Regions from separate parts of the Homo sapiens genome. Here regions 1 and 2 are each linked to region 3. Evidence: promoter capture Hi-C in human tissues and cell types (Jung and others, 2019). All regions are on one chromosome and are shown on one strand. Each heading gives the region's core, a stretch centred on a gene start or on the middle of the fragment in contact. The rest is flanking DNA. Distances are from core to core; before and after follow the strand shown.

Region 1 (4,620 bases), core at 779-3,278, 49 kb before region 3:
AGTATTCAAAGGCATCCACCTTGAGAAGATGGGGAAAGGCTGTTCCAGGTATAGGGTCTTAGTCTGTTTTCTGTTGCTATAACACACTACCCAAGACTGGATAATTTATAAAGAAAAAAGTTTGTTTAGCTCACAGTTCTGGAGGCTGGGAAGTCCAAAATCAGGCAGCCACATCTGGTGAGGGCCTCGTGCTTCTAGATAGCATGGCAGAAAAGCAGAAGGGCAAGTCAGCATATGTGAAAGAGGTGGCAAAAGCAAGCCAAACTCACTTTTGTAACAACTCGCACTCAAGAAAACTCACTCATTCCCACAATAAGGGCATTAATTCATTCATGAAGGTTCTACCTTCATGACCCAATCACCTCTTAAAGGTCTCACTTCTTAATACGGTTACATTGGCAATTACATTTTCAACACATCAACTTTTGGGGAACACGTTCAAATCATATCACATAAGGAGGAGCAAAAGGGCTTAACAAGGAAAAATTGAGTCTGTTAAAGGAGCAAAAGTAAGTCCAGTGTGGCCAGAGGAATGCATGAAAAGGAGAGCTATAGGAAGGCTCTGCAGGAGCCAGGGCCTGGTGAGTCTAGCAGCTCATGAGAGAGAGTTTGCATTGCTTTGCTATGTGCAGTGGGACAGTGGGAAGCCACAGGAGGGTACTAAGCAAAGGTGTGGGGCAATCTCATCTTCTCATGATGCTACCCTTGACCCACTGTAGGACAGAGGTTCCCAAGCTTTTTCCATCTCCTTAGGTGTCAGTAATTTTGTCACAGAGCCCATAGGCCAAAAGAAATACCTAATAGTTCCATTTACTAAGTAACTAGGTCCAAACAAATTATTAAGTTTTTATGTTCTAAAAATCTTAACCATTTGAAAAAAAAATCACATAAACTGATTCTTTTTTTAAATAGAGACAAAGTCTTACTTGTTGCCCAGACTGGTCTGGAACTCCTGAGCTCAAGCAAAACTCCTGCCTCAGCTTCCCAAAGGCTGAGATTACAGGCATGAGCCACCACATTTGGTCATAAACTGAAATTTTTAAATAATAATTCTATTCTTGAATAACCACAATTGATTGCTAATGGGCTATATGTGCCTATTAATTTACATGGTGCCAACATTTAAAACATGGCCCCACTCCTGAGAGTTCACCGCAGGAGCCCTGAGCACCATAGTGCAGAGTTTGGGAACCGTGCCATAGAATCTATTGTCATTACAGATACACAGGACCTCAGAGAAGTCAATGAAGTCAATTGACTTCATAAAATATGAAGTTTTTAAGATCCTTCTAAGGGAAAGAACCTGAGCACAGTTCTTCAGGTTTTAACGTAGTAAATTATAACCAAAATTTGCCTTGAATCTCCCTGCCTTTCAACTAATATGTTAAAATGTAAATTGATTCCCTTAAATGTCCCACTGACATTTAATTCCAGAAGAAAATGACAGAGAATGACTATAAATAGTTCAGGCACCCCATATGCTCCTGTGCATGGACTGGATTGGCCATTTATTGATCCACTGTTTTGGGTTCTGTTAGTGTGGCCCCAGTTTCCCTGCTGGTGGGAAAATATAATAGTGTCAGTGATCAAGATTTTCAGTGCCCCATTTTAGACTTGCTTGATCTACCTTCTTTTTAAGCTCAGAAAAATAGTACTCTGTCATGTTAAATCAGTTACATTGATTTTGACTAGTGAGCCTTCACTGGTAGTAACTGACAGTACAAAAATGTCCAGGCAAATGTTATGCAAATCTCAGTCAAGTACCCTCTTCTAAAATAAATGGATAACTATATAAATTGTATAAGTCATACTAAGTATGAAGTTTTACATGCAAAATGACTCAAAAAACTTCAGGTGGAGAGAAATCATAAGAACCACTGTCTTTATGGTATTAATGGCCAAACACAGACTCTTCATTGCCCCTGAAAACCGGCATCTGTTTACAATGATTTTGAAATCCCAATGTTATGGAGGCATAAATGCTGGAGCTGAGAGTTAAACTAAGGTCTCTCTTTCTGTCTAGAGCCCTCATTCTCAACTACTCTACCAATACTCCTTCTCCTAGTTGTTTGTGAATATACTGGTTCCTGAAAAGATAGATTTGGATGAAAACATTAGACTCTATGGATGAGGGCAGAGGCAGGCACCAGTGCTGACTTCTCTTTAGTGCTAGGCTCTTGACTATGGATTTCTGTCCCATACAACTGGGTCTGACTTGAATTCCCTACTCGGCCATGAATTCAAGAACGGAAAACATTACAGACCCTCAGTACCCAATGACCAAGCTAGTGGAGCTAAGCTCTCCTGTCCTGGTATGATCCATGCCTTTCTTACATGGCTTCCAGAGGATTCCATAACCTCTATTCTAGGCTGAAAAATGGCAAGTACACTGGACTAGAAATAAAATCTGGATCCTAGTCTTGGTTCTGGAGCTTCCTAGCTGGGCAACTGAGACAAGAGGCTTGACCTGACCACAGCACCCTCACCTGTAAAAAGACTGATGATTTCTTCCATGGCTACCATACAGCATTGATGAAAGGCTTTAAGAAGGCATGTCATGGGGAAGTACACTGCTACACTGTAGAGTCTCAAGCAAGTACAAAATATTATTGGGGTTGTCCTTGGTGTTATTCCTATAAGAGGCAGTATGAAACAAGTTGTAAAGCACCAGCTGTGTTCTGCCCTGGATTCAAATTCTTATTCCACTACTTCCTATCTGTCTGGCTTTGAGAAAGGTACTGCTTGAAATTTTAGCTTCCTTACATGTAAAACAGGGACAATATTACCTACTTCTCACAGTTACGATGAGAATTGAGATACAATGGGATTTTGCTCACAGCAAGTGCTCAATAATTTGCCTAGAATAATATTATCACTCTATGTCTAAGCTTCCTCGTCCCACTAACACTTAGTTTCCTCATTTATCTGATGGGAATCATGAACAGCATGGAGGAATCATTTTGTGTTGGGCTTAAGTTCTAATCTAAATTCATTAGGTGAAAGCCAAATATGAACATAGTTATCCTTGAAAACTGCTTTATGTACCTATAAATGGTGACCATATGTCCCAATCTGACTGACACAGTCCAACTCTATGTCTTTCATCCATGCACAGTTATTGAAAGTATCCTCTTACTGTCAAAAGTGCCTCAGTTTGGATGAGAAACCATGTGGTCACCCACCTATGAAGAACCTCTCCCATCAAGTCCAGTGTAGATTTTCCCTCCCGTGCTGCAACAAGTTGCTGCTTCTTTGGTTGATTCCCAACTAAAGTAGCAGTTTACAAATAGAAACCATGCTGTATGGAATGTATAAATATTTAAGTCCTAAAATGATGCATAAAATGCTTGAAGATGATTAAATGCACTGAAAGATAAGCTTCCATTGCATGCTCATTCGAGATACAAATGCAGTAATTAGAATCGCTGGCAGTATCAGCTGCACAATTTAAATTTCTTTTTTCTCTCTTCCCCCCACCCCCACCCTTCTCCTCTTTCTCCTCTCTTCCCCACTCACCCCATACAGTGCTCACAGTTGAATACCAGAAAGTTAACCACGCATACAATGAGACCACACTGTACCTGTCTCCTAAGATTGTGAGATTATGCATGAAGAAGACTGTGTATAGTTTCTGGTGTGTAGTAAGCACTCTGGGATAATCTCTATTTCCATCATTATTATATATTCAAATTATTTTCTTGGCTTAACTAGGAATCAATTGCTCATCATAATTGGTACTTCTCTAGAGATATTGGTGTAGGTAATTTTTTTTCTAACAGGACTTCTTTCAGGTAAGGGCAAAGTAAAGACTGCATTCATAGTTGTGGCTACTCTCAGAAGACTTCAGATTTTAATTTACAAGGATGGGTTTGTGGTTATCTTGTTTTTGTTTTTCATTCCAGGCAAAATAAAAAACACCACCAAGGGCAAAGATATGGAAGAATGAGAGTCTGTGCATTTCAGGTAAGGGCATGTGAAGCAGGGAGAAGGATGGCTGCAGACAGGACCAAAAAAGAGAGACTGGAGCCACTTTGAAAATAATGTGAGATGCCAGGCTATCTACTTGGAATTACAACTGATGGGCACTTGGGAAACATGTGAGGTTTTTCTAGTAATGGAGTGACATAATTACAATGTTTGATAAATAAAGCAGCAGTAGAAGCTTAGAAGATGGAACTAGGAGATAAGATTAGAAGAAGGAAGCCTGGTGAGGTGCCTGCTGCCATCAACTGAGGGAAAGATGACGACTGCCCAAACCATATAGGAAGGGAGAGATGAATTCATGCATTTCTCTGTGCAAATAATGTTTGCTGGGGCTTCCATCCCTCCACCCTCACTTTGACCTACTTTACCATCTATTCTTGTATTGGAGGAAGAGATGACCAAATTTGATCAAAAGTGAATAGTGGAAAATCCTAAGCATCTTTTCTCTTATTATATGTATCAATGTGATAGTAATAGTTACCATGCATGGCAAACTCTATGTGCCAAGTGCTATTATAAGTACTTTATTTTTTAACTTAATCTTTATGACCCTATATATGTACTATTATCATTCCTGTTTTGCAGATGAGAAAACTGAAGCATGAGAGAGTAAGCAGCTGGCCAAGATTACATAGT
Region 2 (4,271 bases), core at 1,740-4,239, 45 kb after region 3:
GACTTATAAAAACTAAGACTTGTAAAACTTCTTGTCTCTTTTAGAAGCCATAGCTTTGTAAATACTGACCTAAAGTTTCCCAACATCCTATGCCATGCTTGCTGCTAAGAATAAATTAAAGAAACAGTTAATTATTTATAAAATGAATAGCAGATATACTAAAGGAGCTCCCTTCTTGAGGATACAATCATTTCCTAAAAGAAAAATCATTTTATCATGAGAATAATTACTCCCTAACCTCAGGATAAAACATAAATATGTGCCAACTCTTCTTGATTCAATAACCACCTTGAGTAGGGGTCAGCAAATTTGTTCTGAAGGCCAGATGGCAAATATTTTAGGCTTTGTGAGATATGATCTCTATCACAACTACTCAACTCTGCCAGCGAAATGCCAGAGCCCCATAAACAAATAAACCAGGGGCTGTGTTCTAATAAAACTTTATTTATGAAAACAGGGAGCGAGCACTATTTAGCCCGACTGGCCATAATCTACTGACCTCTGACCTAGAACGCAGTGTTGAGATGGATTCTGAGGTTTTGTCTGAGCTCAGTAGGAGAGACTGTCAAGATCAATTGGTGATGCCTGCTAAATGGGAGGAAAGGAAGTGTCACAGCACTTAACCCTTTTGCCATTTAGGAAAAAAAAAAAGTGCAGCTCGCTGCTGGCACTCATTTAATTTTACATAAACACACTCTTTGAGGCTGAAGCAAATCCTACTGATTTTCAATGTGAAAATAAAATATAAAAACCATTCTTGGAGTTATTTCTAAACAGAACTGACATCAGGATCATCTGAATCATTAGAATCATCTATTTCAGAAAAATCTAATTCATCAAATGAATCTTCGGTCAACAACTGTTCAAGAACAATGTTAACATCACTCATAGCAATGCTACGTTTTCAGCCGGGCACGTTGGCTCATGCCTGTAATCCCAGCACTTTGGGAGACCAAGGCAGATGGATCACGAGGTCAGGAGATGGAGACCATCCTGGCTAACATGGTGAAACCCCGTCTCTACTACAATAGAAAAAAAAATTAGCCAGGCATGGTGGCTCAAGCCTATAGTCCCAGCTACTTGGGAGGCTGAGGCAGGGGAATCGCTTGGACCCGAGGGGCAGAGATTGCAGTGAGCTGAGATCATGCCACTGCACTCCAGCCTGGCAACAGAGAGAGACCCAATCTCAAAACAAAAAAAAAAAAAAAAAAAAAAAAAAGAAATGCTACGTTTTCTAGGATTTGACATTTTCAGCTATCAAGAATTACTATATTTTGTAAATGGAAATACTACTACTAAAAATAGAATGCTGTAAATAGAATGGTCTCTTTTGTTTCCAAAGTGAATATATAGAGCAATGTGAAAATAATAATAAAAGCGAGATATTTCATGGCAAAGTTATCTCGGGGTAAATGCTGCAGCTGTAAGCACCACCAGTGAGTATTCTTGGGGCAAATGGGAAAACGGTTAAACTGAATATCTGATATTGCTGCAAACCAACAATTTGTTATTTTATCCACATGCCCCAAAATGTCCCATGTCAGGAATTGTGAACTGGCTGCCTAGAGTGGAAGGGGTAGTGTGGATTTTCTTTTGAGGTTAACTAATTGCCCTAGATAGGGATCAAGTTTATGACCTTGGGCCTCATTAGCATCAGCCTTAACCAGCTGCAATATCTCGCTACAGATCAGGCTGTGGGAAGAGCAAGAAAACATAATGTCTTTGTTCTTTTGAAACAGTAGCAACTCACACTGAGAAAATGATCATTAGGAGAACGAAGAGTTAGTGTCTGTCTTAATTTAATCTCTTGTCGTTAGATATCCTTAGCTCTTCTACTTCAGGGACTGTAGACTAATGGAACTTATATTAAACATTCTACACCATCAATAAGCAGAGGCTGCTGCTATCTCCTTTACAAGGTAGATAATACACCACTTAGTAAGAAAACTGGAAATTATTCCCAAACTATATAAGAATATGAGAGAGTGGCTGGCAAGATGACCGAATAGGAACAGCTCTGGTCTGCAGCTCCCAGCGAGATCAAAGCAGAAGGTGGGAGATTTCTGCATTTTCAACTGAGGTACCTGGTTCATCTCATTGGTACTGATTAGACAGTGGGTGCAGCCCACAAAGGGTGAGCCGAAGCAGGGTGTTGCCTCACCTGGGAAGCACAAGGGCTCGGGGAACTCCTTCCCCTAGCCAGGGAAAGCCGAGCGGCACTGTGCTGTGAGGAATGGTGCATTCCGGCCCAGATACTATGCTCTTCCCACGGTCTTTGCAACCAAAAACCAGGATATTCCCTTGGGTGCCTACAGGGCCCTGGGTTTCAAGCACAAAACTGGGCAGCTGTTTGGGCAGACGCTGAGCTAGTTGCAGGAGTGTTTTTTTTTTTTTTTTCATACCCCAATTGTGCCCGGAACACCAGTGAGATAGAACCATTTACTCCCCTGGAAAGGGGGCTGAAGCCAGTGAGCCAAGTGCTCTAGCTCAGCAGATCTCACCCCCATGGAGTCCAGCAAACTAAGATCCACTGGTTTGAAATTCTCACTGTCAGTACAGCAGTCTGAAGTCAACCTGGGACGCTCAAGCTTGGTGGGGATAGGGGTGTCTGCCATTACTAAGGCTTGAGTAGATGGTTTCCCCCTCACAGTGTAAACAAAGCCGCCAGCAAGTTAGAACTGAGCGGAGCACACTGCACAGAGCCCGCTGCAGCTTGGCAAACCCACTGTAGCCAGACTGCCTCTCTAGAGTCCTCCTATCTGGGCAGGGCATCTCTGAAAGAAAGGCAGCAGCCCCAGTCAGGGGCTTATAGATAAAATTCCCATCTCCCTGGGATAGAGCACCTGGGAGAAGCGGCAGCTGTGGATGCAGCTTCAGCAGACTTAAATGTTCCTGCCTGCCAGCTCCAGCACTGCTCTGAAGAGAGCAGTGGATCTCCCAGCACAGTGCCTGAGCTCTGCTAAGGGACAGACTGCCTCCTCAAGTGGGTCCCTGGCCCCCATGCCTCCTGACTGGGAGACACCTCCCAGCAGGGGTTGACAGACACCTCATACAGGAGAGCTCCAGCTGGCATCTGGTGGGTGCCCCTCTGGGACGAAGCTTCCAGAGGATGGAACAGGCAGCAAACTTTGCTGTTCTGCAGCTTCTGCTGGTGACACCCAGACAAAGAGATTCTGGAGGAGACCTCCAGCAAACTCCAGCAGACCTGCAGCACAGAGGCCTGACTCTTAGAAGGAAAACTAACAAAAAGGAATAGCTTCAACATCAACAAAAAGGACATCCACACAGAAACCCCATCCAAAGGTCACCAACATCAAAGATCAAAGGTAGATAAATACACAAAGATGAGGAAAAACCAGTGCAAAAAATTTGAAAATTCCAAAAACCAGAACGCTTCTTCCCCTCCGAAGGATTACAACTCCTCACAAGCAAGGGAACAAAACTGGATGGAGAATGAGTTTGACAAATTGTCAGAAGTAGGCTTCAGAAGTTGGGCAATAACAAACTCCTGCGAGCTAAAGGAGCATGTTCTAACCCAATGCAAGGAAGCTAGGAATGTTGAAAAGAGGTTAGACAAATTGCTAACTAGAATAACCAGTTTAGAGAAGAACATAAATAACCTGATGAAGCTGAAAAACACAGTACAAGAATTTAGTGAAGCATACACAAGTTTCAATATCCAAATCAATCAAGGGGAAGAAATGATATCAGAGACTGAAGATCAACTTAATAAAATAAAGTGTGAAGACAAGATTAGATATGGAACATATGGGACTATGTGAAAAGACCAAACCTACGTTTGATTGGTGTACCTGAAAGTGACGAGGAGAATGGAACCAAGTTGGAAAACACTCTTCAGGATATTATCCAGGAGAACTTCCCCAACCTAGCAAGACAGCCCAACATTCAAATTCAGGAAATACAGAGAATAGCACAAAGATACTCCTTGAAAAGAGCAATCCGAAGACACATAATTGTCAGATTCACCAAGGTTGAAATGAAGGAAAAAAATGTTAAGGGCAGCCAGAGGGAAAGGTTGAGTTACCCACAAAGGGAAGCCCATCAGACTGACAGTGGATCTCTCTGCAGAAACCCTACAAGCCGGAAGAGAAGGGGAGCCAATATTCAACCCTCTTAAGGAAAAGAATTTTCAACCCAGAATTTTACATCCAGCCAAACTAAGCTTCATAAGCAAAGAAGAAATAAAATCCTTTATAGACAAGCAAATGCTGAGAGATTTTGTCACCACCAGGCCTGCCTTACAAGAGCTC
Region 3 (4,194 bases), core at 183-2,682:
TCTGTGCCCAGACGGGCAGCCCCGGCAGCGTGAGGACCAGCAGCACGGCCGGCACCGCGGACAGCGCCCGGCGCCCGGAGCCCATGGTGAGCCGTGTGGGCAGCCGCAGCCGGCTGGCGCTGGTGCTCGCCCGCGTCGCCTCCTACCCCGGGATCCCGGTGCTCGGGAAGATGCTAGCGGCTAGGTCGACAGCGCTGCAGGAGCGACGGCGGCGGCGGCGCGCACACTTCCACCAATTCTGTGGCTTGAAGTCAAAGTCTCCCCTCGAGCTCTCTCGCTGGCTCTGTTACCTTTGTCCTTTAAGGAGCTCATGCAGCACCCTTTACCCTACTCTCCTCCGCCCAAGAATCAGCCCTGCCTGGGGCCCCTGCACCCACTCTGGTTCCTAGACATCTGAAAGTCATCAAACCCTCACATTCACACCTCAAGGCAAAAAATAATAATAATAATAAATTCTCACCCCAAACTCAAGCACCACCAGCTAAACCACGGAGCAGGAACAAAAAGAGGGGACTCAAAGAGAAGCCACAAGGGTGGCGGGTGCCCAGCGGCGCGGGTGCCAGTCCTGTCTGGCTTGCGGCAGGGACGAGTTACAGAGGCAGAAGGTCCTTCCCAGGCTGAGAAGAACGCGAGGCTGTGTTCATGGCCAGGACGCCAGCGACTCCCACTTTCGCCTGGTCAAAAAAATCCCCCAAACCTGGTGTCACCCAGAGGTAGGGAGGGAGGCAGCGGCTAGCCAGGTCCCTCGCACCGAAAGCGCGGATTCGCAGGATCAGGTCCAGGGCGCCGGGCGCAGCGTTCAGGGCGGCTGGTCCGGCGGGGTCCTCTCCTGCCTGGCCGCCCGCCCCCAGTCCCTGCGCACAACTTTCTCGTCCCTCGTGCAGCCCGGAGAGCGCGAAGCGGGCACACGCGCTCTATTTATAGGAGCGCAGCGTCCGGCTGGGTTGGCTTATCGCGCAACCCGCGGGCTCCGAGAAAAGGGGGAGAAGGCGTCTGGTGACCCCATCTGAGCAGCTCTCTCCTGACGTTTAACGCACCCCAAAGCAAGCGGGGCGCACAGCACTGGTGATTGGCAAGGTTCGAGGCCCCTCAGCCCCTGAAAGCCCGTGGCGTAAAGGATGCGTGCCCAGAGAGGAGCCCACGGCCCTGCGCTGGCCCCAGCTCCGCGCCCACTCTCTCCTGCTCGATCTGAGTCCGCAGAGGAGGCGGCTGGTCCCCTCACCCCTCCCAGCGCGGAACTCTGCCGCCGAGTGCCCTCCAAGCGGAGCGCGGCGCTGCCAGGCCGGGTCGCGAAAAAGGATAAGCCGCCGCGGACCCGCGCTGCGCGCTGCCCCGAACCTGGGGACCGGCGGGCGTCCCGACCGCGCCTGGCCGGGAGCCCGCCCCACACAGCCCTGGGGCCTGGCGAGCTCAGGGAAGCCTTGGGGCGGACCAGAGCCCGTGGGGGCGGCTGGGAGGAGGTGCCTGATTCCTTCCTTCCGCTCCGGGAAGATGAGCCTCAGAAGCCGCAGGGGCGCGCCTTCCCCCCACACCGCGAATCCTCCCCAGGCATGGCCAAAAAAAAGAGTGGGAGAGGGAGTTAACTCAGCAAGAATAAGTCCTCCGAAACCGTGCCAACAACAATAAAAAAATAAAAATAAAAATAAAAATAAAAGACAATCCCACTCCTAGGAATACAGCATTTTTCTCCCCTTTGGATGCGCTTTCCGCCCCCGTGCCACTCCACTGCTATCTTGGCCTCTGATTTGCAAGAGTTCCCTTCCTCTTCTGCAGCTACCACGGGGAAGGGAGGTTTGTCTCTGTCTGGACCCGGCTGCGTGAACTTGGCCGAGTCACTAACCCTCTCTGAGAGGGGGGCGCGGCGTTAACTAAGGTCCTCCCCACCCCCATCCCGCCAGCTTTCCAATTCTGTGATGCTGTGGGGTCATGGCGCCCCTTCCCCAATTTCTTCTACACTTCCAGCTGCCAGAGGGCAGACACGTATGGTATCTTTAACCAAAACAGTATCCCCTCCAGGCATTCGGAGCTCCTAAAATGGCATTGGCTAGTTATGAATGGAAGGGATGTTTATTGAGGGAGGTCCTTGGGATGGACGGCTCCCATTCCTTCCTGAGTGAAGGACGCCCTCATGAGCGTGGCATTCGAGCCCTCCACAAAACAAGGTGAACCTCGTCTCCAGCCTTTTTCCCTTCCTTCAGAAGGGCCGGGCATTGAGCTATAAGCACCAGCTCCAACTGTTAAAATTGAAGACACTACGAGGAATCCCCTAACCCTCACCTCCCTATAATCTCTCAACTAAAGTGTTAATACTTGGTGCCACAGGGGCCTTCAGATTCTGCTCCAGTGGGGCCAGTATCAGGTGTTTTGACTTTATGATTTTATTTTACTTGTGGTGGGGGGTGGTCTCGCTATATTGCCCAGGCTAGATGCAAAACTACTGGGCTCAAGCGATTCTACTACCTCAGCCTCCCCAGTAGCTGAGACTACAGGCCGGTGTCAGTTCCGGCTGGCAGGTGCTAGTACCATGCTATTTGTTAAAATGTTGAAAGTTACCTATCTAAGCTACAACCAAACAAGGTGAACTAGTGCCTTCTGAAGATGGCCACCATTTACCCAGCTTTGATGCCCCACCCTAAGCCCAGCACAATCTTCACCTGATCCCTCTCTGCACTTTGTAACTCTCTTCCAGATTTTAGGGATGTCTGCCTGGTTAACAGCAGCAATTTCTTCTCATTTGATGCAGTCTTTTGAGGGTGGGTGCTGAGTTGAATTTAGTTCCTTTTATTTCCTGTAGGGGTAAGCACCCTGCCTTCCTTGTCTGGGACAGCTGTTCAATAACTAGAACTTTGGTTGTTCAATTTCAGGCTGGGAGAAGTTTGACAAAAAAAAAAAAAAAAAAAAAAAAAAAACTGTGTTGAATTGTTAAATAGAAAATAAGCTATCTTCCTCACCAATTCCAATATATTCTCTCTACCTCCTTTTCTTCTCCAGGCACTTCCTGCACGCAAGAACTGAGATTTGAAGAAACCTATTCTTTCTCTCACCAAAAATATTCATTTTTAGTCCCAAAATCTGCATAGTGACCATAGTAAAGACTCAATAATTGAGAAATGACTGAATGCTTCCTAATAGAAGGTAATTATCACTCATATTATAGTATAAACTGCTTTAAATGAGTCTCTCTCAGTAAAATTTAAATTCAAAGCCTCCTTAATAATTGGGGATAAGGGTCTCGGTTCCTTACTAAAGGATGTTCTGCTCTTCAAAGTGTTCTGAAGATAAGGAACACAGCATTTTCTGTGGACCCCCGCTAAGAGAAGTTATCTTATATTGTGAATCAGAGGGTCCTGACTCTTTTTCCCACAACAGTTGATTAAACACGGATAGCCCCTGGGTTCTAGGACCATCAATGCATTTGATACCAGAAGTCCAAGATTTGTATGGTCCAACTTGGCCAGATGACTTGGGGCTGCCAGATTTTCTCTCTGCAATCTTAATGAGACATCAAAATAGCTTCCAGTAAGCACTACATGTGGCAGAGACAAGGTTTGTAGTCTCCCAAACTGACGTGGCCATGTAGGAGTCATCTGCAAGCTGAAGCAGAAGAGGTATTGGAATAAACCAGAGGACTGGCCACACTTGTAGAAAGAAGCCAATTCTGGAGCATGAGCACTTCTAAGAAGTACAGGGAGTGAATAGTCAATCGCCAGTTCTGAACTCTTGCTTACAAGAGTTCCAGAAACATTTTCTCCTAACCTTGGGTTTCTTGGTATCCTCCTATGTCTTTGAAATAAAAACCCAATTCCCTTGAGCTAGTTTTAGTAACATACCGCTCCCTGTCATCCAGAATCCTCATTAGAACATTGTCCCAGAAACCATACCACAAAAGGCTATGGATCTCTTGCCAAAAGACTAACAAATCCAATCTCCTGCCTGTAGGAAATGCTTTTCCAACATTTTGGGAAAGGAGGCATCACCTGTTCCTCACCCCCTACTTCAGCCCCAGCATCCCCAGGAGAAAAGAAACAAGATCAAGTTTAAGTTTCTCTCCAACCACAGCATAGATCTGTTTTTCTTTTTCTTTTTCTTGTATTTTTCCAGTTGAAAATATGCTATTAGAAGACCTAGCAGTGACCCAAATATTTTCCCTTTCTGAGATTCCCATATTGTATTTGATGCCTAGGATTTTTTTTT

Evidence for each region. Contacts are between HindIII fragments. The study calls those that stand out against the background at their distance.
Region 1: a contact is called between a fragment that was not itself captured here and the fragment with the promoter of CBLN4 in region 3, in 2 of the 25 tissues and cell types used here (dorsolateral prefrontal cortex and spleen).
Region 2: a contact is called between a fragment that was not itself captured here and the fragment with the promoter of CBLN4 in region 3, in 8 of the 25 tissues and cell types used here (H1 embryonic stem cells, bladder, dorsolateral prefrontal cortex and 5 more).

Annotation. Positions count from the first base shown.
Region 1 is chr20:55,954,083-55,958,702 of GRCh38, forward strand. No RefSeq gene overlaps it. Among named protein-coding and RNA genes, the nearest start is that of CBLN4, 49 kb to the right of the region's middle. The HindIII fragment of the contact is 3,484 bases long and covers 287-3,770 here.
Region 2 is chr20:56,047,583-56,051,853 of GRCh38, forward strand. No RefSeq gene overlaps it. Among named protein-coding and RNA genes, the nearest start is that of CBLN4, 44 kb to the left of the region's middle. The HindIII fragment of the contact is 4,295 bases long and covers 843-4,271 here.
Region 3 is chr20:56,004,087-56,008,280 of GRCh38, forward strand. CBLN4 (cerebellin 4 precursor) reads right to left here and starts at 1,433. Exons shown (of 3, transcript NM_080617.6): 1 at 1-1,433. The coding sequence starts at 85. The HindIII fragment of the contact is 15,736 bases long and covers 1-4,194 here.